6 separate regions of the Homo sapiens genome follow, and all the other regions are linked to region 1. Evidence: promoter capture Hi-C in 16 types of primary human blood cells and fetal thymus (Javierre and others, 2016). All regions are on one chromosome and are shown on one strand. Each heading gives the region's core, a stretch centred on a gene start or on the middle of the fragment in contact. The rest is flanking DNA. Distances are from core to core; before and after follow the strand shown.

What was found. Contacts are between HindIII fragments. The CHiCAGO score rates a contact against its expected background, and 5 or more counts as called.
Region 2: a contact is called between the fragment with the promoter of HERC5 here and the fragment with the promoter of TIGD2 in region 1, in 7 of 17 cell types (naive CD8 T cells, total B cells, total CD8 T cells and 4 more). The highest score is 7.2, in naive CD8 T cells.
Region 3: a fragment that was not itself captured here is called in contact with the fragment with the promoter of TIGD2 in region 1 in 1 of 17 cell types (total CD4 T cells); the score reaches 5.2 in total CD4 T cells.
Region 4: a fragment that was not itself captured here is called in contact with the fragment with the promoter of TIGD2 in region 1 in 1 of 17 cell types (total CD8 T cells); the score reaches 5.2 in total CD8 T cells.
Region 5: the fragment with the promoter of SNCA here is called in contact with the fragment with the promoter of TIGD2 in region 1 in 14 of 17 cell types (total CD4 T cells, fetal thymus, monocytes and 11 more); the score reaches 21.2 in total CD4 T cells.
Region 6: a contact is called between a fragment that was not itself captured here and the fragment with the promoter of TIGD2 in region 1, in 1 of 17 cell types (fetal thymus). The highest score is 7.5, in fetal thymus.

Annotation. Positions count from the first base shown.
Region 1 is chr4:89,109,735-89,113,491 of GRCh38, reverse strand. TIGD2 (tigger transposable element derived 2) reads right to left here and starts at 1,959. Exons shown (of 2, transcript NM_145715.3): 1 at 1,609-1,959; 2 at 1-1,425. The coding sequence starts at 517. RefSeq lists a silencer at 1,702-2,151 and enhancers at 2,232-2,311, 2,342-2,451. The HindIII fragment of the contact is 10,355 bases long and covers 475-3,757 here.
Region 2 is chr4:88,455,019-88,459,237 of GRCh38, reverse strand. It overlaps HERC5 (HECT and RLD domain containing E3 ubiquitin protein ligase 5), which reads right to left and starts at 2,119. Exons shown (of 23, transcript NM_016323.4): 1 at 1,704-2,119. The coding sequence starts at 1,968. All of the region lies in intron 1 of LOC102723458 (a long non-coding RNA gene), which reads left to right. RefSeq lists an enhancer at 2,060-2,489. The HindIII fragment of the contact is 3,677 bases long and covers 5-3,681 here.
Region 3 is chr4:89,905,665-89,909,884 of GRCh38, reverse strand. MMRN1 (multimerin 1) reads right to left here. Exons shown (of 8, transcript NM_007351.3): 2 at 490-609. Among named protein-coding and RNA genes, the nearest start is that of MMRN1, 13 kb to the right of the region's middle. The HindIII fragment of the contact is 1,099 bases long and covers 2,389-3,487 here.
Region 4 is chr4:88,277,121-88,280,795 of GRCh38, reverse strand. PPM1K (protein phosphatase, Mg2+/Mn2+ dependent 1K) reads left to right here. Exons shown (of 7, transcript NM_152542.5): 2 at 2,154-2,652; 3 at 3,553-3,653. The coding sequence starts at 2,213. Among named protein-coding and RNA genes, the nearest start is that of PPM1K, 5.6 kb to the left of the region's middle. The HindIII fragment of the contact is 1,892 bases long and covers 1,480-3,371 here.
Region 5 is chr4:89,834,491-89,838,606 of GRCh38, reverse strand. It overlaps SNCA (synuclein alpha), which reads left to right and starts at 1,446. Exons shown (of 6, transcript NM_000345.4): 1 at 1,446-1,645; 2 at 2,915-3,060. The coding sequence starts at 2,940. SNCA-AS1 (SNCA antisense RNA 1) reads right to left here and starts at 2,206. Exons shown (of 4, transcript NR_045481.1): 1 at 1,873-2,206; 2 at 201-346. The HindIII fragment of the contact is 7,659 bases long and covers 1-4,116 here.
Region 6 is chr4:88,597,591-88,601,378 of GRCh38, reverse strand. All of the region lies in intron 2 of HERC3 (HECT and RLD domain containing E3 ubiquitin protein ligase 3), which reads right to left. Among named protein-coding and RNA genes, the nearest start is that of HERC3, 7.0 kb to the right of the region's middle. RefSeq lists an enhancer at 1-268. The HindIII fragment of the contact is 2,120 bases long and covers 1,143-3,262 here.

The DNA.
Region 1 (3,757 bases), core at 710-3,209:
TTTGCTCTGGTTGTAGATTCTCTTTTTCAACAAATTCCTGAAAGCTACCACAAAATTCTCTGGCAGCAGTTTCATCTCCTTTTAATTTTGTTCCTTTACCAGCAGCCTTTGGAATACCATGGCGCTGCTTAAATCGAGTTAGCCAGCCTGACGATGCATTAAAATCACCTTCCATTCCCAAAGCATCAAAAAAGAACTTGGCTTGTTTTGCACAAATCGTTCCGGACACTGGAATCCCATCTGTTTTCTGTTGGTTAAACCACTCTATCATAACTCTATCAAGCTCCTCGTATGTTGATGACTTCATAGATTTACGTTTGGATACTCCACTGGTAGGATCTGAACTGTTTGCATAGTTTATAATCCTTTCTTTGTTCTTTTTAATATCACGAACTGTGGATTCACCAATTCCGTACACCACGGAAAGTTTTTTGAAAGAGATGCCTTCCTCAAGTTTCTTAATAATGTCAAGCTTGTCCTTAATTGTCAACACCACACGCTTACGTTTCCCCAACATTTTAAGTGTCTAATATTTTAGGTGATTACTAGAACAAGATAATTAACAACTAAGATTTGAATACAAAGCAACTAGAAAATGAGTTCGTAAGATTCCTCCTCTCACTTCTAGGGCCTAGATGGATAGTGACCAATTTCCTGACAAGGTCTACGTGAATCTACTTGCTATTTTAAAACTTACAAACTTCCTACAACAAAGCCTAGCGCCAATTAACTCTTATCTTCTATCTTTCTTCCTCCTCAGGGTTCAGGGTCTTTCATGAAGTGCAATCACACTAGAGGCTAGAAACTGTACTGGTAAGGCTTCTAAAACAGTACTATTGCATACTCAATTCTTGCCATCCTTGCAGGTAATGTTCTTTGCCAGAATAGCCACTAAATCTCAGGTGGAAGTATTTTAGGAAATGTGCTAGGGAGTAAACAGTTTAAGTCAAGAGAGGACTTGCAAACTTGACATACAGGAAAATACAATGGGAAAACTCACCCTCTGACTATGTGGTCTTTGTCAAGCAGTGGATTGTATGGAATGCTGTCTCTCTAGGCACGGACTCTGCTATAGGTTGCGCAAGTGAGTGCTTGTGGAAATCATACGCAAGAGAAGATGACCCGGACAGAAGTGAACAGTGCAAATAAGGTGAAAGTGGAACAGGCAGAAAACTCTACTTTAAAAGCGACTTAAACCTACTAGATTTGGCAGCTGGAAAGGAGGATAGTGGACATGTGATGTCACATTACTAAAGAAAGCATCAAAAAAACTGCATCGGTGGAAATGAGGACCCAAGGTAGAGGCTATGGGGTGGCAGGCTCGGTGAAGATGATGTTACAATAATCCTGGTGAAAGACGATCCTCGATGGACCAACAGAAGCAGTTCCTGTGGGGGCTGTAGAGATACTCGGAGGCTCCGAAACCTAAAGGAAAATACCAAAAACATTTTCTTTCAATTCAACATCAGGATCTGTGGCATTATCCACATTTATCCTGCAACTATGTTGAGAAAATTAACGCCTCCTATCAATGTGATAGCTAAATACGACAAATAATGCTTTCAGGCATAATCTGGGGTGACAGAGAGAGGGACCTGAAGAGCCTACCTCCTGAAATTAAGAGGTCAGGGAGAAGCCGTGTTAGCGAGGGCCTCTCCCCGCTGGGCGAGCTTCAGAGCGCGGGACGTCTTTCCTCCCGCGGAGGGAGCCCGGATTCCGCCTGGACGCCGGCGACCAGGATGTCACTGCTGCAGCCAGCCAGCCAGCGGGCGGCCGCTTGGCACAGGGAACGCCAGTCCGCCGGCCCCGGGCATCGCCCTGGGACCGCCTGCGCGGCGCCCAGACCACACTAAGCGCAAATGGAGTCTCCTGAGGCAGGCTGGCACTGGTGGCCCGGCAGCGGCGAGGGACGAGCGGAGAGGGACGAGCGTCGCCGCCGGAGCCGGAAGGCGGGGGATTAGAGAGCACGCGCGCGCCCCCGCAGAACGTTGTGCCGGCGAGGGGGCGGGGCCTGCGCGGGTGAGCGCACGCGGCCCGGGGGAGGGGACTCCGGCGAGCGGGCGGGAGGGGCGGGGGCCCGGCAGGGGTGCGTCTCTAGGCGCTGCGTGGGTTCCACTCACCGCCTGGCCGTTTCGGGGCCGCAGTGCCTCCCTGGCCGGCAGGGGGAGGCACACGCTCGCCTTGTCCTGGCGCTTTTCCCAGTGGCCCGGCTCTGCCGACGAGGCTCTTTTCTCCCTAGGGGGAAATTTTAAAATCTCACCCCCCCAGTGCTGGGGGGAAAGCGGAGGATCCTCGCGTGCCGGGAGCGGGCTGCGAATGGGGCAGGGCGAGCGCACGTGGGGCGTGTTTACAAACAGCAGCCGCGCCGCCTTGCGGAGGCGGTCCAGGTGTCGGAGCCCAGAGTCAGCGCGCGTGGAAAGTGCTAGCCCGAGCGAGGATCATGAGGCACGGTAGGAGCCGGCGGACGTGGGTTCCGGGCAGGAGCTGGGGCGTTCGCTCGGCAACACCCAGCCGGACAAGCCCAGGGTGCCGAGGCGCGGCGGGCTGCGGTAGAGCCGAGTGTCGGGTCAGCGCTCCCCGGTGCTGATGCTCCGAAACTCGTCACAGTCGCTGTAGAGACGGACCCTTTGCAAAATCGACAGCACCTGGGAGACCCTTGAGCCAGTGGGAGGCGTCGTGGTAAATTTCCTGCCGTGCCTCGACGCCCGGGGCTTCTCAAGTGGAATCGGGGAATTGCGCTTTGACTGATACTCCCTTTATTTGTTTCCAACGGAGACATCTGCGGAAGGGTCACCGCCTTCCTGGAGGAGAGAGTGGTGCACCTCCACCTTGCACCACCTGTTTCCTGGGAAACGCGGTCAGGCTGCCTTCCTTTCCGTCTTGTGTGTGCGTGTCAGTTTGAAAAATTGGAAATTCTTCAGTGAATTATCTCTTCCATATGAACATAAATGTAACCTTTTCGTTAACACAAAGTAACATAGTAATTCGTCATTTCTTTGACAAGGCCATATACTGTTTCTGGAATTTCAGAAACTTGGAGATGGAAATCAAAGCGAGCATACTGTAGAAAACAGATGTTGATTCTAAGCCTTCTGTTTGACTCCGCCGCCAAAACTGCTCAATTGCCTTTCTCAACATAGCAGCCTTCCACTATCTGGCATGACAGAAATTCTTTGATCTAGTTATGTTGTGAGGTTGTAAGTGGCTTTTGGAGAATACCTGCTTTTAGACCTCCCCTCTTCCCTGCCTTCCATTTGGCTTCCAACAAGCCAGTCCCTTTCTGGAAGTCCTGGTTGCCTGTTTTGGGTACATTATAACTTACTTCATGGTAGTTTTATATAACTTTACAAAATATTCTTATTTTCCCTGATACCTGTGAAGAGCGTGAAAGACTGCTAGAACAGCACTTTACCGACTGCCACCCATGTGGAAATGAGGCAGCCTGTAACCAGATGTCAGCCGCCTGCCTTTCCGCCTCTCCCCCGAGTCTGCTGGAGTAGCTGTGTCCCAGGATATTTAAATACAAAGGAATCCTGCCTCTTACTCTTCCTCTCTTTTCCACAGTATCTCTAGGATTTAATTTTCTTCCAGATACCATTTGCATTTTTCTCTGTTCCTCCTGGATTCTCCAGTTTGCTGTTTTATGTCTTATAGCTGTTCCCTTTTTATCACCTTGTGTAAGTTCAAATCTGGATACAGCCCACATTTCTAGATTTTCTCAAAACACCGCTTGACTCAAGGCAATTGTATTTAGTAG
Region 2 (4,219 bases), core at 870-3,369, 650 kb after region 1:
AGCTTTGACTTACCATGAACTTCTCTTAAGAAAATTCAGGTAGGCAAAGCAAATCAGGAAAGACAACGGTCTTGACATAGATTTTTTTTAATTAGAAAAAATATTGATGTATACTTTGTTGTAAATGGAACATACCCTTAAAATATCCAATTAAATATCTGCTTTTAGGTTCTTGTTTATTAAGACGAACGAAATTTGAAATGACAAAGATGAAAAGGTCTATAAGAAAATATAACTTTAAGACAACATAATCTCATTTCAAGAACAAATAGTGTATTCTGAAACACATTCCTTTCTCCCAAAAAGCAAATAACAGTAATAAACACTTCCCGACAGTTACCAATAGAAACCAATGCCTATATTCTTAAAAGGAAGGATTATGTTTGGGGGACTATCTTTAAAGAGGATGCTGTTGAAAACATTTTTCATTGGCATTAGTGCACATTTGGCCCTTTCTGAAGTTAAGAGATTAAACTGTCCACTAGTAAAAATGTACTCTTATTTAATTTGTTCACAAAAATTAAACTAGGATAGTTTTGGGACCTTGTTTCATCTTCAGTGCTAATGAAATAGAATCTATTCGTGTAAAAATCTCAAAGCACAAACCATATTACAAATGCTAGGGGAACCAAAACAGTTTGGTAATAAGAAATGGTCCAGCAGACTAACGGTTTCTTTTAAAGAGTCTCAGCATTTCAAATCAGTTGAAAAAAAGGAAGTATTAAGAAATGGTATTGGGACATAGGCTAAGCCTTTGGAAAAGCAAATAAATCTAGCTCCCCTCCTACCTCAGTACTGAAAATTCCAAGCGTACGAAAAATTTTAACTTAAAAAAAAAAACCTTAAAATTACTACAAAAATGAGTACATTTTTTAAAACACTGGGAGTGTGGATAGCTTTCCAGCCTAACATAAAACCCATAAGCCTTAACAGACAAAAAAATTGACAGACTACCCCCCAAAAAATGCACTAAAAACAACATGCACAAAAGGCAAAGTGAGAAAAATATTACATGTACGACGTGCAAAAGGCTATTCTTATTCAATATTCAAATACCTCTTCCATACAAATAAGAAAAAGATTTAACAACTCAAATTTCTAAAAGCCAGGCAAAGATAAACAGGCAATTTACCGAAAAAGGAACGCAAACGTCCAGTAGTTAAACGCAAAATAAACTCGCAGCAAGATACCAATTTCTTCACTCCACAGATGGGCAAAATTTTAAAGAACGCGGGCAACTATTTCCCCCACTTCGATGAGAATGTGGGAGAAGTGCAACTGAAGGCCAAGGTAAAATCCCATCACTGAGAACGACTCCCAAAGTTGGAGCAGTGACTACTTTCTCAAAACGAGACAGTGGGAGATGCGGCGGGCGGGGGACGGGGGTACAAACTTGAACAGAAACCTATGAGAAAGCCAGACTGGCTAAAAGGATGAAGACGGTGCCCGCATGCCCCGCACCGGCCACTTTGCTGAGCGGAGGATCCGCTGGTCGCCAGTATCCCGCTCACCCCGCGCCTGACACTGACCGGGATAAAAGACAGCTCAGGTGCGCCGTCGGCGAAACTATCCGAGCCAGGCGCGCGTCTGCGGCCTTCTGGGCTCTCCTCCCTCAGGCGCGGACCCCCGGCTGCCCGCCCCTCACAGCCCTCAGCCCTCACCCCTCACAGCCCTCACAGCCCTCACACACCAGCCCCACTCACTCGGCGTCCGGGCGCCGCCGCTCCCGGCGAGCAGCTGGTGAACCTGGACGCCCGCCCCGCCGCGTTCCAAGACCGCGAGGCGCCCCGGCGAGCAGCAGAGTTGGCGCGTCACCTCCACCCTCCGGAGCAGCGCGCGGTGGAGGCCCGCGGCGCTGGGAAAGAGCCAGAGCTGTGCGCCCGGAGACTTCGCGGGCTGGGTCGCGGCGGCCTTGCCCGCGGTCGAGCGCCCGTTGCGCCGCGACTTCCTCCGCGACCTCCGCTCCATCGCCGCTTTGCGGGGTCCCAGGCCCAGAGGCGAGAGGAGAGAACGCCTGGTCCCGGGACTGAGCGCGCCCACTGCCTCAGGCGTTGCGCTGCAGAGCGGGAACCAGCTGCGCGCAGCTGCGTGGCGTCGGGGAACCGCAGCCTCAGCTACTGAGCCCCTGCCGGGACGCCACGCCCCCCACGTGCTGTTTGGGGGCGGGGCCTGCAGCTCCAGTGGAAAACGAAACATAATGTTTGTTGTTGTTTTTAGGGGGCGGAATCGAAAAGGAAAAGGAAACTGTAATGAGAGTGACTTGGCAGGCGGCCAAAGGCAACAGGTCGTTGGCTGGGGTAAAGGCCGATGGGCTGGACTGAGAAAGTGTCCCCGGGCGGGCAGCGGCCACCTTAACTCCTGGACGGAATGGCTTTCGAGGAAACGCTGCAGTTCCACTAGGAGGCACCCTGACACACGCATTTCCAGAGGGAGGGATAACGGAAGCCAAAGTTTGTTAAGCGTTGTGCGCCGCGGCCGGGCGCGGTGATTCACGCCTGTAATCCCAGCACTTTGGGGGGCCGAGGCGGGCGGATCACGACGTCAGGAGATCGAGACCATTCTGGCTAACACGGTGAAACCCCGTCTCTACTAAAAATACAAAAACAAAATTAGCTGGGCGTGGTGGCGGGCGCCTGTAGTCCCAGCTACTCGGGAGGCTGAGGTGGGAGAATGGCGGGAACCCGGGAGGCGGAGTTTGCAGTGAGCCGAGATTGCGCCACTGCACTCCAGCCTGGGCGACAGAGCGAGACTATGTATCAAAAAAAAAAATGCGTTGTGCGCCGGGCTGAAACCGGCATAAAACTGGGCAGAGCTATGCAGGCAGCTACCCTCCCCCCCACCCCTACCCCCACCCCCACCCCCCTCGTGCCCGCTCCGCTACGTATTCCCGTATTCCCGGGTGCCTGGCAACAGTGATGTGCTTTAGGCCTTTTTTAGAATGCATACAAACGGAACCATATCTAAGTGATGTCTGGCTTTTTTAACTTAGCACAATGCTTTGAGATTCATACTATTGTGTTTAATTAGTAATTCATTTGTGTTATTGTTGAATGGTAGTCTATCATATGGGTAAGCCACAGTTTATTTATCCATTCACCAATTGATGGGCCTGTCGGTTGTAGGGAACAGGAGAAAACTTCCCCTTTGCCCTCTGAAGGGTCACCGAAAATCAACTGACAAGGCTGGGCCTGGGCTCCTGCCTGTAACCCCAGCCCTTTTTTAGCCCAAGGCAGGAGGATCTCTTCTTTGTGAAGTGTGTATTCAAATCTTTTGACCATTTATTTATTAGCTAGCTTGACTTTTTATCTAAGAGTTCTTTATATATTATTGAGTTCTTTATATGTTTCATACCATGTTCTTTATTAGCTATACGTTTTGAAATGTTTTCTACCTGTCTGTGGCTTGCCTCTTCATTTTAAGTGTCTTTTGAAGCACTGAAGTTTTCAATTTTGATGTAATTTATCCATTTTTTTCTTTTACATAGTTCATACCTTTTTTGTCCTACTTAAGACATTTTTGCTAAATTCAAGATTATAAGATTTCCTCATTTGTTACCTTCTGGAAGTTTTATAATTGTTGGTCTTCATTATATTTAAAATGAATTATTCTTTATAGTATCGATAGATGCTGGAGGCAGATAAGGGAGGGTCCCTGGAGAATCTCTGACCTGCCTCACAAGCTTTTGTGCAGCTGAGGAAGCCTGCCCAGGGTCTTGTCTGGGCATGCCCACAAGGGACTTGGGGGCCCACTGCACCAGGAGAGTGGGGTGCAGCCAGAGGGAATTCAGCCTTATGCAGCAGGGATGAGCAAGAAGTCTTCAGCTTGTGTGTGTTGGCCTGTTATTCAGTCTGTGAGCTGGGAGCCTGTTGGCAGGACCCTCCTTGTTTTTTTGCTAAGAGCTTTTAATAAATGCCACTCTTCACCTTGCAATGTATTCACATGCCTAATTGTTCCTGGTCATGAGACAAGAACCTGGATTTTAGCTGAGCTAAGGAGCAAAAATTCCTGCATCAGTATGAGGTAAGAATAAAGGTTCTTTTTTTTCCTTATGGATTTCCAGTCGTTCCAGCTTGCCTATCCCCATGGAATTGCCTTGGCATCCCTGTCAAAACTCAGCTGGCCGTATATTATAACCTCAGAGCCAGCCCAAACTGGCCCTACTCTGTTGATAACAAAATGGCCAGTTACCCTGTAGGTATAACAGAGCCAAAACTGCAAG
Region 3 (4,220 bases), core at 1,689-4,188, 800 kb before region 1:
GACACAAGAAGAAAAGCTTCACCTAGCTGCTTTTCCATGCATAATTGTAACTAGAAGCTCTCCTAATTTTAGAATATGAACCAAGTTATAAACTTCTTTCTGACCTAGCATGAAGAGAAAATAATAAATCTTCAAAACTGTGCATGAAATTCATAAGCAATTAAGGACAGGATTGTTGACCAGATATAGAGTAAAAGTAATAGTGATAGTAAAAATAGAAATAAGCATGATAATTAACATTTATTGAATGCTTATAAGGCACAAGGCACTAGGCTAAATATAGTATTGCATTATCTCAAATGATTCTAAAAATGACCATATGAGGCAAATATTATTAGTGTCTGCATTTTCACTTACTAAAGCATAATGTGACTACCATCCCCTGACCCTACTATGTATTATGTACCTTGCATGAATAACATTATATATTCCCGGCTATAATTTATTATGGTGCAAAAACAGTGGCTATTTTCAAGAAATATTACATACCTCTGAGGACAGGATCCACCGGTCCAGCCACAAGGTCCTTTCCCACCTGGGACATAAGTGACCTGGTTGTCCAATATCACTGTGGGAGATAACCTGGTATGTACATAAGCACACCAATTCCTAAAGAAGATCATAATTGTTAGGGAAAAAACTGTTGTCAAAAAAGAATTCTTTTCATCAAAATTATTTTCACAGACAAACATTTATTTTTGCCATACTATAGATCAGAAACCTTGTAAGATTGCTATTTAGCTTTAAAATATTTAAATATAAGAGAAAATAACTTATTACTGTATTGCTGTACTCAGGGACTATAAGGAAACACTAACAAGATCAAAATAAAGAAAAGAATAAATCAAAGCTAAAATGAGAAACCTGCAGAGTTTAGCTATAAGATAAATCAAAATGCAAGAATGCTCTTGTAGCAAATATTAATATTAGTACTGAGATAAAAAACTCAGATCCGGGTCCATTACTTTAAATTATGTGCAGTAAAGCATAAGTAAATAAGTAAATAAATGGTTTCAAAATCAAAAAAGAAGAGAAAGAACTGTTATTAGCTGCAGTGGATATGATTGTAACCAAACAAAATGCAAAATGGTCTAGATGCCGATTATTATAATTAAAAAGACAATTCAGCAATGTAATCAAATATAAATGTTTATGAGTTAATACAATACTAATTTATATTAATTCAATCACAAAATTAAGATCAGTTACATTTCTCTGTACCAACAACAAATTAAAAAAGACACTATTAACAGTAGCAAAAAATAACAACAAGAATAATGTACCTAAGAATAAATTCAGCAAAAGAAGTGTTAGATTTAATAAGTAAAAATTTTAAACTTTATTGAAAAGTTTTAAAGAAAAAGCCAATGAATCATGTTAATTAATGGGAAACCCAATGCAAATATGTCAATTTTCCTCAAATTAATCTTCAAATTCTATGAATTTTCACAACAAATCTTAGCTTGATATAAGGAGTTAAATGAGCTTATTCTATAATTTTTCATATAATAAACTAAAAACATAAATTTCAGAGAATTTTGTCCCTGGCTATATAAACTATCAGATTTACCTTTTATGGCAAAAATTATAAATCTGGACAAGATGTATAAAGCAACAGTTTTCAGATGTTGGGCAGTAGACAATGCAGTGATATGATTCTTGAGGGAAAATATGTGATGTTAGCTCCACATTCAATCTAGTTTTGTGCCTGGGAACAATTTTCAAACTGCATCACAGAAGGATGGATTCCAGAAAAGACACCAAGTAAAGAAAATAGAGATCTGAGTTTGGGGATACTAGGATGGTTAAAAAATGTGTTAAAGATTAATAAAATGAGGGGGCCAGACAGAAATATCATTTTAAAAGTCAATATAGGGGTGCCCTTGAATCTTGGACTGAATACTATTTTGTGCTTGCAAACAACAAAATCCAGACACTAATAACATAGTATCCACAATGCCCAGCATGAAAAGCAGACAAAACTAACTATGAGAAAAAGCAGCAAAACAGGACCAGTATATGGAGTAAAAATCCAGTAAATAGAAAAAAAAAAAACAAAAAAACAGGCATGACATAGAAGTTGGAATTAGCAACCCATGACTTTAAAACAATTAACCATTAAATAGAACGAGAAGTATACAATATGTGAATTAAAAATGGACTGAATGTTCTTAACAGAAATTTGGACACTTTAGAAAGGAAGACCAATAAACTCGAAGATAAGGAATAGAAACCAGCCAAACTGAAGTACAGAGAAAAAAATTCAAAAACATAAATGAGCAAAACTGAAGTGGTCCTAAGATTGGGCAGAATAAACATGAGAAGAAAAAAAGGGAAAATTTCCTAAAATTGTTTTTTAAAAAAATCAACCCTCATATCTAAGAAGCTTAATGAATTCCAAGAGGATAAACACAAAGTAAAACCTCACTTAAGTACATCATACACAAATTCCAGAAAACAACACATAAAAAGAAAAAAAGATATGTTAATTGCTTGATTTAATCATTCCACATTGTCATTCATCTAAGGCAGAGAAATTGAGCTCTACAGAACTTATTGTGTTCTTTTGAATGTGATGTTTAAAATTTCAGGCCCCTTAAAGAAGTAAGAAGACATGCTGGCACATGTTGTTAAATCACTGGTGACAATTGAGGCAAAAATAATGTAAAACAAAGAACTGGAAAAAGCAAGAAATAAAAATAAAAAGATTTAAAATTGAGAGGACCACAATAAAGGGATCTTTAAAAAATTAACTAGATTCCTCATGCAAATGCAATGATGATCCTAATTACTGAGACTGACTCACTTCAACAGAAGCACAATTAAATTGTCACATGAACATTCTCTGAATGACTGTGGAGGAGGGAGTGTGGGGCAGAAACAACACAAGTATCACCGTCACTACATGCTCAGGGCTTTGAAAAGAAAAAAAGTATATTCATTCTCTGTGAGGCAAAATGATAGTGTCACCTGGCAGAGACCTTTTGAAATCCTAAATATTAAAACAATCTCATGACTAAAATAGTTGAGGAGACAAAGAAGCAGATCAGCAGACTGCTCATGGCCCAGCAATCTTTGATCCAGGGTAAATTAGAAGAACTATCCACAGCAAAAGAGCCCCTGGTGTGACTCATAATTAGGTTTATGCTACCAATGAAATAAGCTCATTAAGGGATATTAAAAATGTAAATATAATTTTAAAGCCAAATTATCTGAAAATGTAGGTTTAAAAATAGAAAATGAAGCATGGCAAAATGGTGATGGGCAGTTTAAAGGCAAATGCAATGATCCCAGACAAGCATTTTGCTTAAACCTAGTAATCCTTTGTACCTTTCTAGACTGATTATGGTGGATGGAGAGCAGTTACTTTGAAGTGTTTAGTTTTCCATGGGGTCATAACCTTCCATCCAGCAGACCACATTTGGGATTCTCTTTCAGGGTAATAACTCTGTTGCTTTTGTGCAGCAACATGTACTGAAAAAAAGCTTGTATTGATTCTTTGGATTTTCCAAGTTAATAGGTAAAAGGTTTGTTCTAGGGAAAAGCAGACATCTTTGGTTATGAGCAAATGCCTAGCTTGTTGAACATATAAAATAGAGAGGGGAAAGGATTCTATTATGATTCATAAAACTCAAAGACTTGTGGATAATGAACTAAGAGAAGGCATCATAAATAAACAGTTTACTATATTTTTTATTTTGACATTTTAGAAACTCAGTCTTTCAGGAAACTAGTGAAAAGACTAATGTAAAAAACTTCCATTAATTGACTAAATAATGGCCCAGTCATACCAATTCTTATCCTGAACTGAGTGAGAGAGGACTGAAGCAAAAAAGATGGCTTTAAATAATGACCACACAGAATATTTTCCCAAGAAATAAAGGGATAATCTAAGAACTAACATTATTCAGTTATACTAGTTCTTAGAACCCAGATGAATAGATTGCTTGTCATCTAATTCAAAAGAAGCTAAATACTTAAACTTTCATATTAATAAACTGTGGCTTTAATTGACACAATAGTATGAAAATACCAAGTCCTGAGGATGTTCATTAGAAGTCAAGGTAAGACAATAAAATCGCCACCATAAACCAAGCCAATGGTATATAATTTTCTTTGAGAAGTGGGAGAAGATTTTGTTTCTGGGGGAGACTTTATGGATTGAATGACCTTTGTTTCCCATCATGCCCTTTAACGTAGAGATTTAAAAGGGAACAAGA
Region 4 (3,675 bases), core at 1,176-3,675, 830 kb after region 1:
CTCACTGCAGCCTCTGCCTCCCAGGCTCAAGCAATCTGTCCACCTCATTTTTGTACTTTTTGTAGAGACAGGGTTTCACCATGTTGCCCAGGGTAGTCTCAAACTCCTGGGCTCAAGCAGTCCTCCCACCTCAGCCCCCTTAGTAGCTGGAACTACAGGCATGCGGAACCACGCCTGACTAATTTTTGTATTTTTAGTGGAGACAGGGTTTTGCAAAGTTGCCCACTGGTCTCCAACTCTTGGCCTCAAGTGATTTGCCTACCTCGGCCTCTCAAAGTGCTGGGATTACAAGTGTGAGCCACCGGGTCCGGCCATGTTAATTCTCTTTGATAACCAGAGATGCTGTGTCTCTGCCACTCTCCAACCCCCCAACAATGTTGTCTTACGAAGAAATGAATTTCAGCCTTCTATGCAGGATCTTGGCCAAAAGGCCAAGAAGGGATGACTTCCTAAGTCTTTGATGATACATTACTTGTTTTGGTGGCCATCTTTATTCTAAATTCTGTGACAGCAGAGCTCATATTTTTTTTAATTGCTTAAATATCTAAAGATTGAGGCCAGTCTCTGTGGCGCATGCCTGTAATTCCAATACTTTGGGAGGCTGAGGTGGGAGGATCACTTGAAGCCAGGAGTTCAAGAGCAGACTGGGCAACAAAGTGAGAACCCATATCTACAAGAAATTAAAACAAATAAACACCTAAGGATGTTCTTTGGAACCTCATTCTTTCTTTTGACTGTTTTACCCACCGAAAGAAGTAATGGCCTTCCCTATACATAGCTAGACTGATTTCCAAAAATTCATTGGAAAGTAATTGTTTGAAATCTGTAGTGCATTTTCTCATAACTGCACTCAAGCTGGGTTTCATTTGTGTATGTTTATACCTTTTGGAAAGATACATTTTTTCAAGTTCATTTTTTATTGTGAAATAATTTAAACATAAGATTGAGAATAATATACTATCTGTAGACCATCCACCAACATCATCAAACCTTAGTATTCTGCCATCTTTTCAAGTTGATTTTAAAAGAATAAAGTAATAGAACAAAATCCTATGGAGACAAATTTTTTATTTGTGTGGAAAATTCCCAGAAACAGCTCTACCTGCAGTGGGGTAGGAGTTCCCCTGGGTAACACCCTGTAATGCCAAGAGAGGTTTTAGGATTGAGTTTCAGGGTGGAGTCCAGAAATGGGGGTGTAAAGTAATCGTTTCAAAGAAGTGTAGTCTCAAGTGTCGTTGGGTTGTTAGGGTTGGGGAAAGGAGAGCTGCAGCTGTGAATGTAAATATATAGATCACTCGTTCAGAAATCAGGGCTGCTTGTCACAAATGCAGTGCTGCCAGGTTCCTGAGATCATACCCACATACCCTCCTAGTGAGAGAGTCTGCTAGGATGGGGAGCATCAAAACTGGCTTATCTTTGTGCCTCTGGGGTGTTTGCACACCAATTTATATTTACCATAGTAATATAGTATGTAAAGCTTAGTAGGTTAAGAAATGTTAAAATAAAACTTAGATTTATCCTAGATTATGTTTTTGTTAAAACTTGGCCATTCTTTGGAAACAGAACTATTTTAAGTATTCTATTAGCCTGTTATTTTTTCCTGAAGAGACTTTGTTGCTATTGTTAATATTTATCCCTACCTTTTCTTTAAAGCAATAGAGTTAATGAAGGGAAGTATATTTATTTATACCTGTATTCTGTGTTCTTGCTACTAGAAGTGTAACTTGGGGACCAGCAGCTTCTGTATCACCAGGGTGTTGGTTAGAAATGCAGAGTGACTCCACCCCATAGCCACTGGGTCAGAACATGCATTTTAACAAGTGATTGCAGGTTCAAGTTTAAGAGATACATGTTCTGTGTATGTGCACACTGTTAAATTTTTATAGAATTTAAATGCTGTGAATGCGGTAGGAAAATCGATTCATTTTTGATCCACTGTTCTTAGAAGCAGGCTACTGGATGCCTACCCAATATATAACATAAATATATGTATTTTCTGTCAAATCCTTTATGAGCTTCATTTTTGGTAATATTTGATGACATATCAGTTATATTCAAAATTTCTGATGGTCTCTCTCTCTCTGTCTCTCTCCCTCTCCTCCTCTGCCCCTCTCTCCCTCTGTCCCCTGTGACTTGCATCATTTTTCTTGAAGACATTCCATTATTGTTCCATTGACCTTTCCCTCATCACTGAGTCCTTTGGAGCTGAGTTATGTCAACAGCTGCCTTAATTACTTTGGTCAGAAGTGGTGGGAACCAGGTGAGAAGGAGAGTGCTGCTAAGCTCCCGCCTGCTGCAGGACGACAGGCGGGTGACACCCACGTGCCACAGCTCCACTTCAGAGCCTAGGTGTTCTCGGTTTGACCCAGATGGTAGTGGGAGTCCAGCTACCTGGGACAATTTTGGGATCTGGGATAACCGCATTGATGAGCCAATTCTGCTGCCACCCAGCATTAAGTATGGCAAGCCAATTCCCAAAATCAGCTTGGAAAATGTGGGGTGCGCCTCACAGATTGGCAAACGGAAAGAGAATGAAGATCGGTTTGACTTCGCTCAGCTGACAGATGAGGTCCTGTACTTTGCAGTGTATGATGGACACGGTGGACCTGCAGCAGCTGATTTCTGTCATACCCACATGGAGAAATGTATTATGTATGTACAATGACTTTCACTCCTGACTTTGCAGTTCCTATACTTCCTACTTAAACTTTCACCCTTTGGCTGAGGCTTCCAGCGTAAACATAGTTACTTGAGTGGTTGCATGCTGCTGCTTCACGAATGAGCAGTAGTTTAAGTGTGCCATTTATTACTTATGGTTATCACAATTTCAGAAATGCATGTTTTAACAACTCCCCTGGGGAAAGCATTAACCAAAATCTATAGCACTTAATTTGTGATCATTTTAAGTGAAGTGGCATAATGTACATGAGATAACCTATGAGAAGCATTTACTCCCATCAGTGTAGGACAGATAAGTGCTTCAGTAAATGGTAATTACTCTTTCAAGTGGTGTGAATAGCTTTGAATACCTGACTTGTTGAAAATAGCTTTGGATGATTGGCATTAGTGTGGAAAAATGCATTTAATGCAGGCATTTTGGAGCTCTTCCGTTTATTTACTTCAACTAGTATTAATGCATTTTTGAGGATCACATTACTGCTAAAATTGAAAGAGGGAGAACATGTGATGGAGTTACGACCATGTGACTATTTTTGACTTCCCAGTGACCATTTCTTGACTTCCTGTGTATACCGCATTCCACGAAAGAACTCACAATGGGAAGGAACTCTCGACCTCTCAGGGTTGTGGTAGTGAGGATCAATTCTTCAAGGACAAGGACTTGGACTTTCATTGTTGTGCCCTTAAAAGCTTATCACAGTGCCTGATACTTTGTGGATTCTCAATAGGTATTCCTTAGCCAGTAGGTCTTCAGCATTTGACAGGAAAATCCTGAGGCCCGTTGTGTGGAATGACTGCTAGCTAGAGTAACAGTGAGGAGAAAAACCTATTGTAAAATGATTGTTTAAGGCTCTTTTTTTCCTCCCCACAAAGGGATTTGCTTCCTAAGGAGAAGAACTTGGAAACTCTGTTGACCTTGGCTTTTCTAGAAATAGATAAAGCCTTTTCGAGTCATGCCCGCCTGTCTGCTGATGGTATGTAAAACTATCACATTCC
Region 5 (4,116 bases), core at 197-2,696, 730 kb before region 1:
TCTATTTTCCACTGAACACATATGCATTATCTTCTATATGTCTTTTATGTATAATCATTTGCTTCCTGTTCCTTGTGGTTTTAAAGTTGTTTTGTATGTTTAAATTTGATTTTACTCAAATTTCAGAACCCAAATTAGCGCAAGAATCAGACAAAGCATAACTTTCTATAAATATAAAAACAATTAAAAAAAAAACATACAGCAAAAACGAGTTGTTGTTTCCCCCCTCCTCTTCCAGTGCTTAACTAATCTTCCGAATCCAGGCACAGAAAGCAAAGGCTTTCTGCTAGTGGGAGGAGCTTGCTTCTCCATTCTGGTGTGATCCAGGAACAGCTGTCTTCCAGCTCTGAAAGAGGTGAAAATGTGTTAAGCGATGCAAAAATTGTCTTGAAGTTCGCGTGTGTATGTCTGTGTGCATGTGCGTGTGGTGGGTGGGGGGAGAGAAAAGGGGGTGTCAATTCTGAGGGCAACGAGAATCAGAAGTCAGAAAGGTGAGTGGTGTGTAGCATCTCCCTTTCAGAAGGGGCTGAAGAAGAAATTGGATATGATGGTCCGGTAGGCTAAATCACGCTGGATTTGTCTCCCAGATAAAGGGAGGTCTGCAAAGTAAGTCCCATTTCTAGAGCGAAAAGCCTTAGGACCGCTTGTTTTAGACGGCTGGGGAATATTTATTCCTTGTTCCACTGATGGGAAAATCAGCGTCTGGCAGGCGCTGATTGGTGGAAAGGAAAATGGTGATAGTGGCGTGGAAAGAGGATTTGCTGAGCCTTCTCCTGCCTCCTCAACCTGTGACTCTTCCTTAGTAGTCTCCCTTTCACCCTCAGGACCCTTTCCGGCTCTTCCTAGATTAAGAGCAAACGAAAACCTTGAAGATATTTGAACTAAAGCGACCCCTAACGTTGTAACCTGTGACCGTGATTAAATTTCAGCGATGCGAGGGCAAAGCGCTCTCGGCGGTGCGGTGTGAGCCACCTCCCGGCGCTGCCTGTCTCCTCCAGCAGCTCCCCAAGGGATAGGCTCTGCCCTTGGTGGTCGACCCTCAGGCCCTCGGCTCTCCCAGGGCGACTCTGACGAGGGGTAGGGGGTGGTCCCCGGGAGGACCCAGAGGAAAGGCGGGGACAAGAAGGGAGGGGAAGGGGAAAGAGGAAGAGGCATCATCCCTAGCCCAACCGCTCCCGATCTCCACAAGAGTGCTCGTGACCCTAAACTTAACGTGAGGCGCAAAAGCGCCCCCACTTTCCCGCCTTGCGCGGCCAGGCAGGCGGCTGGAGTTGATGGCTCACCCCGCGCCCCCTGCCCCATCCCCATCCGAGATAGGGACGAGGAGCACGCTGCAGGGAAAGCAGCGAGCGCCGGGAGAGGGGCGGGCAGAAGCGCTGACAAATCAGCGGTGGGGGCGGAGAGCCGAGGAGAAGGAGAAGGAGGAGGACTAGGAGGAGGAGGACGGCGACGACCAGAAGGGGCCCAAGAGAGGGGGCGAGCGACCGAGCGCCGCGACGCGGAAGTGAGGTGCGTGCGGGCTGCAGCGCAGACCCCGGCCCGGCCCCTCCGAGAGCGTCCTGGGCGCTCCCTCACGCCTTGCCTTCAAGCCTTCTGCCTTTCCACCCTCGTGAGCGGAGAACTGGGAGTGGCCATTCGACGACAGGTTAGCGGGTTTGCCTCCCACTCCCCCAGCCTCGCGTCGCCGGCTCACAGCGGCCTCCTCTGGGGACAGTCCCCCCCGGGTGCCGCCTCCGCCCTTCCTGTGCGCTCCTTTTCCTTCTTCTTTCCTATTAAATATTATTTGGGAATTGTTTAAATTTTTTTTTTAAAAAAAGAGAGAGGCGGGGAGGAGTCGGAGTTGTGGAGAAGCAGAGGGACTCAGGTAAGTACCTGTGGATCTAAACGGGCGTCTTTGGAAATCCTGGAGAACGCCGGATGGGAGACGAATGGTCGTGGGCACCGGGAGGGGGTGGTGCTGCCATGAGGACCCGCTGGGCCAGGTCTCTGGGAGGTGAGTACTTGTCCCTTTGGGGAGCCTAAGGAAAGAGACTTGACCTGGCTTTCGTCCTGCTTCTGATATTCCCTTCTCCACAAGGGCTGAGAGATTAGGCTGCTTCTCCGGGATCCGCTTTTCCCCGGGAAACGCGAGGATGCTCCATGGAGCGTGAGCATCCAACTTTTCTCTCACATAAAATCTGTCTGCCCGCTCTCTTGGTTTTTCTCTGTAAAGTAAGCAAGCTGCGTTTGGCAAATAATGAAATGGAAGTGCAAGGAGGCCAAGTCAACAGGTGGTAACGGGTTAACAAGTGCTGGCGCGGGGTCCGCTAGGGTGGAGGCTGAGAACGCCCCCTCGGGTGGCTGGCGCGGGGTTGGAGACGGCCCGCGAGTGTGAGCGGCGCCTGCTCAGGGTAGATAGCTGAGGGCGGGGGTGGATGTTGGATGGATTAGAACCATCACACTTGGGCCTGCTGTTTGCCTGAGTTTGAACCACACCCCGAGTGAGCAGTTAGTTCTGTTGCCTACGCCTTTCCACCATCAACCTGTTAGCCTTCTTCTGGGATTCATGTTAAGGATACCCCTGACCCTAAGCCTCCAGCTTCCATGCTTCTAACTCATACTGTTACCCTTTAGACCCCGGGAATTTAAAAAAGGGGTTAATCTTTTCATGCAACTCCACTTCTGAAATGCAGTAATAACAACTCAGAGGATTCATCCTAATCCGTGGTTAGGTGGCTAGACTTTTACTAGCCAAGATGGATGGGAGATGCTAAATTTTTAATGCCAGAGCTAAAAATGTCTGCTTTGTCCAATGGTTAAATGAGTGTACACTTAAAAGAGTCTCACACTTTGGAGGGTTTCTCATGATTTTTCAGTGTTTTTTGTTTATTTTTCCCCGAAAGTTCTCATTCAAAGTGTATTTTATGTTTTCCAGTGTGGTGTAAAGGAATTCATTAGCCATGGATGTATTCATGAAAGGACTTTCAAAGGCCAAGGAGGGAGTTGTGGCTGCTGCTGAGAAAACCAAACAGGGTGTGGCAGAAGCAGCAGGAAAGACAAAAGAGGGTGTTCTCTATGTAGGTAGGTAAACCCCAAATGTCAGTTTGGTGCTTGTTCATGAGTGATGGGTTAGGATAATCAATACTCTAAATGCTGGTAGTTCTCTCTCTTGATTCATTTTTGCATCATTGCTTGTCAAAAAGGTGGACTGAGTCAGAGGTATGTGTAGGTAGGTGAATGTGAACGTGTGTATTTGAGCTAATAGTAAAAAATGCGACTGTTTGCTTTTCCAGATTTTTAATTTTGCCCTAATATTTATGACTTTTTAAAAATGAATGTTTCTGTACCTACATAATTCTATTTCAGAGAACAGTTTTAAAAACTCATAGTCTTTTAAAAAATAATCAAGAATATTCTTAAGAATCAAAATCATTGATGGATCTGTGATTTCTTTTACCATCATGAAAAATGTTTGTCAATTTTAATCCATTCTGATTTTTAAAATATGACTTTGATATGCCCCTGTGATGTGTATAAAGAGACCTATTTGTGGCCCTAAAATGGAAAGAACAGATTAGTCTTTGATAGAGTTACTTCATGTGATCATTTGGTCTCTGTGAACACTGAGGACAGAGAAAAGTGCTTGAGGGCTGCTACTAATCTCTCAGAAACATTTGTATAGTTCATCCATCAAATGACACACATACTAAAAGAATAAAGAAATTGATGCTTATTACCTACTTGTTCCTAAAGTTCCACCTTGGGGTATACACCCAAACTCTGACTCTCTTTTCTGTAACTTGAACTGTATTCAATTGAGTGTTATTTTACAAACCACTTTGAATTCCTTGGAAAAGAATAGACACACACTCTCATCCACAGGCATAGACACACACACTCAACACAGACACATTGCCCATTCTTCCTCTCTTCTTTCTCCTCTGAGCTTTTTCACATTCTCTGGTGGCAACTATAGCAGTAAGAGTCACAGGATGAACAGTCAGGTGGAGGATGACCACATTGAGTTGCCTAGCTGAAACATGTGCTCCGTCTATGTCTGCAAAGTGAAAGAAAGCTACACTATCTCTTCAACATAGATCAGTGGGGGAAATTTTATACTTGGGATGATTTATATGA
Region 6 (3,788 bases), core at 953-3,452, 510 kb after region 1:
GAGGAAGCTCGTACTTTCAACCTCTCTTGACAACAATTACAGTACTTTGGATTTAACTCAATGGCCTTAATTGGTATATACCAATTTTAAAACTGCCTTATTGTAATCCTGAGGTATGCTTTGAACTCTTGAGGCTTTCAGGAAAGGCATGAAAAGGCCCAAAATAAAATATAAAACTGAATCTCAATTTGCTGTCTTACACAGAAAGTTCTGCTTCTTCCCAAGATTTTTATTCCTTGTCTAGACTCTACACTAAAAAAGTATTAAGATTAAATGTTATTCTTTGAATTAACTACAAATATTGTGGAGAGGGAAGTAGAAATAAAATGAAAAACTGGCAGGGTAGTGGTGGTGGTGGTTGGTGGTCTAATGATACACTAATAGACCAGCAAGCTCACATAATCTAGAAATAATTTATTTTTCCCAACTTGCTCAATTGCTATTATCCACATTAATGGATTTTTTCGTTTTTAGTATTTCATAAATTTGTCTTATCTCTCCTACCTTCTAGTGTTCTTAGGTGCAAGAAGGTTGTGATGTGCCTTACAGAGAAAAAAATGTGTATTAGGTAAGTTTCTTTCATGCATGAGTTATAGTGTTGGCTGTGAGTTCAATGTTAATGAATCAACAAGCGGGTACATCCAAAATATGGAACAGGAAATCTGCTGATCTGTATGTGAGGCCTCCCCTGGAGAGAGCTAAAGTAATATCCAGAGTACATAATGAAGCTATAGATACAATGGAAAAGCAATTAAATCTGTGGATTCATGAGATGACAACCCATAAAAAATAAAAATCACAGTGGATAGCACTGATGTGAGGCTGAAAGCCAAAAACACTGTCACATTACACAGGGTCAAGAAAATGTTAAACCCTTCTCAACTAGTGTTTTATTACCAAGAAATATTGTGTATATTAGTAAGAAATATATATTAAATAGGCTGTCTAGACAGAAACACACATAAAAAAAGGTTATGCGTCAGCTGGCTGATAAAAATCTCTTGACCACAGCCTACAAGAACCTAATCCTGTATTTCCTCAGAAACAATGGCTCTGTATTCACTAATATGGTATTCACCATGACTTTACAGAACCTAACTATATACAGAGTATAACAAGTCCCTTCTTTGTTTACTTAAGCTTATTTATTTATGCTTGTTTGAATCAGGTTTCTTTCACTTGCAATAAAAAGAAACTCCTGACTGATAATATTAATAATGACATTATTAATAATAACAGCAGATAAGACCTGATTTGAGCTTACTCTGAGTCTGGTACTTTTCTATGTGCTTCACAGATGTTGGCTCATTTCATCTTCTATGAGACAGGTACTGCCATTATCTCTAATTTACAGATGAAGAAAGTGAAACTAACAAAAAAAAGATGAAGTAAAGGAAAAGAAAGAGACACTATGCTGTGCTGTATAGTAAGGAGCTTAGAAAGTAGATAACCAAAAGGCCAGACTTCCCAATGTGTCTGCACCACTCTCCAGAGAAAACAGGGACCCTGATCAGTCAACCTGGCTATCTGACCCGCTAAGTAATTCTTTCCTAAAAGTGGATGGGTGGATCAGATTCCATAACAGTTGTCACTAAATTCACCCAACCAATTGCCTTGCTTAGCAAGCAACCTTAAATAACTTGGTTTCTAGGGCAGATTCTACTACAGGGATAGAATACTGTGACCAGGTAACCAAAGCATCTCAGTCTTATTAGGATTTCTAATTCTCATTATTAATTTGGCGTCCTGGGTCTATCAGCTTTTTTTGTAGTTTATCTGGCACGAGTCAGTCCTTGAGAGTCATCTGAGTTCTGGGTGCTTTGGCCAAGCACAATCCTGTGTAAACAGCCTGAAGTATGGCCTCATCCCTGACTGACTAGTAAAAACAATTTATGAAAAAAGATAATAAAAAGGACTATTGTTCAAGAAAACTTCAAAAATTCTTCCAACTGAGTTACAGTAATGGAATCTTCAATTGGTCAAATAAAAACTGCCCACCAAGAGAATTAAATAGCAACCACAAAAAAGATGTGTATCTGTAAATAAACTATCAATCCTAACTATAAATACGGCCTAGGTCATCACAATGCTCTGCCGGAACTAAAGAAAAAAGCAACTAAAATCATCTAGCTTTCAGGAGAGAAGTTCAACACATTGGAGAGAAGCCAGCCATTAGCACAGCTTTCACTTCAAAGTACACTCCAGTTGGACCCCTAAATCTTGTAGCTGCTGATGTCCATGACTTTAAAGGTCTAGTTTCAGCAACGGTCTGCATCGCTGGGCATTTTGATCTCCAAGGTCCTTACACCCATTTTTCCTCATTCACTCTCTTGCTTGCTCCTAGAAGAGCAGAATCTTTTATTTTCCTTCAAAATACACAATTATGAAATTCGCTGCAAAATATAGGACTACACTTCCCTCAGCACCTACACCAGCCCCGCTTGGCTGCATTTCCTGCCTCTTATTTCCCCATGACAAAACAAAAGGAAGGACTACTTTTGAAGTACAACTTTCTCTCAATGTCAACCTGGCACTTTCCTGAGTCCTTCTCATCTATTCTTGGTAAGAGATTCAAGATAATCTTAGCAGAGCTTAAGGGTCAAAGGAACTAAAATCCAAGCCCTACATTAACCACGTTAGCTGTGAAACCTGAGGAAAGATGTTTACCCACCTTAAGCTCCAAAATCAGGAGAAGGTGCTAGAGTGTTGTGAGGATTAATGAGAAAATGCATGTAAAAAGGGCTTAGCATGGTGCCTGGCATGTAGTAGTAAGTGACCAGTAAATGTCAGCTGCTTTAGTCAATGTTACTCCTACTCCTAGTGCTCTTCTTTGAGATTTCAGCAGACAGGACAATTCCCAAAAGAGGATGGGATTGTGACTCCTGTCTTCCTCACTGCAATTAGCACTAGCTGCATTCTGCCAAATCTGCACTACAGCAAAGTAGCATCACAACCATCTGCCATAACTTTCATGAAAGGGATTTGAGGTTGATAGGAGGAAGTTTTTTTGTGTGCATTTGCTTTTAAATTCTGGAGAGGGCATGGGTGGAGGGCGGTGGGGAGATAAATCTCTTTTTACTAGCTCTAGTGAGTTGAATGCTAAACGACAACCTTCAGTTCCTAAACTTTGTCTTATGATAAGACTATGCGACTATGCACACAGCAGCCTAACAACTCATTCTTATCCCTTTGTTTGAAAGGCACTGAGACCAAAATAACACTCAGGCAGGACTTCTAATCTCATTTAAAATAGGGATAAGCTTCCTTTCAAGTAAGCTTAGAAGCAATTACCTGAATGTTGTATATATGAAGAGGGTCTCTTTCAACAGCAGGAAAAGACAATGTCCAAAACCTTCAGTGCTTTGCAGATACTCCCCAAATTCAGGCTTTAAATAAATGTAGGGCCAAAACTAAAATGCAGAATTAACTCTGGTAACAAAGAAGATTCATTTTAATGACTTGCCTTATTATCAAAAATGTTCCTACCAAAGACAGAAATGTCATAGAAGGCAAAGAGAAGTTTTCAACAACGTGAATCCACTCCTTGCTGTTTTCTCTCTCCTCCACTTTAGCTGGACTTTGGTCCTCTGACCCCCTCAGCCAACACAGGAAACACTCCTACCCTTCCCCGGATCATCCCCTCTAAGGTGGTGCCTTCTTCACTACCTGGTGCTAGGCTTTGTGAAGCTGGAAGAATGACTTCTCTGCAGTCTGCTTAAGCTGTGGACTGCCTTCAAAAGACACCAACGAGACTGGCAAGAATTGAAAAGTCTAACAATACCAAGTCA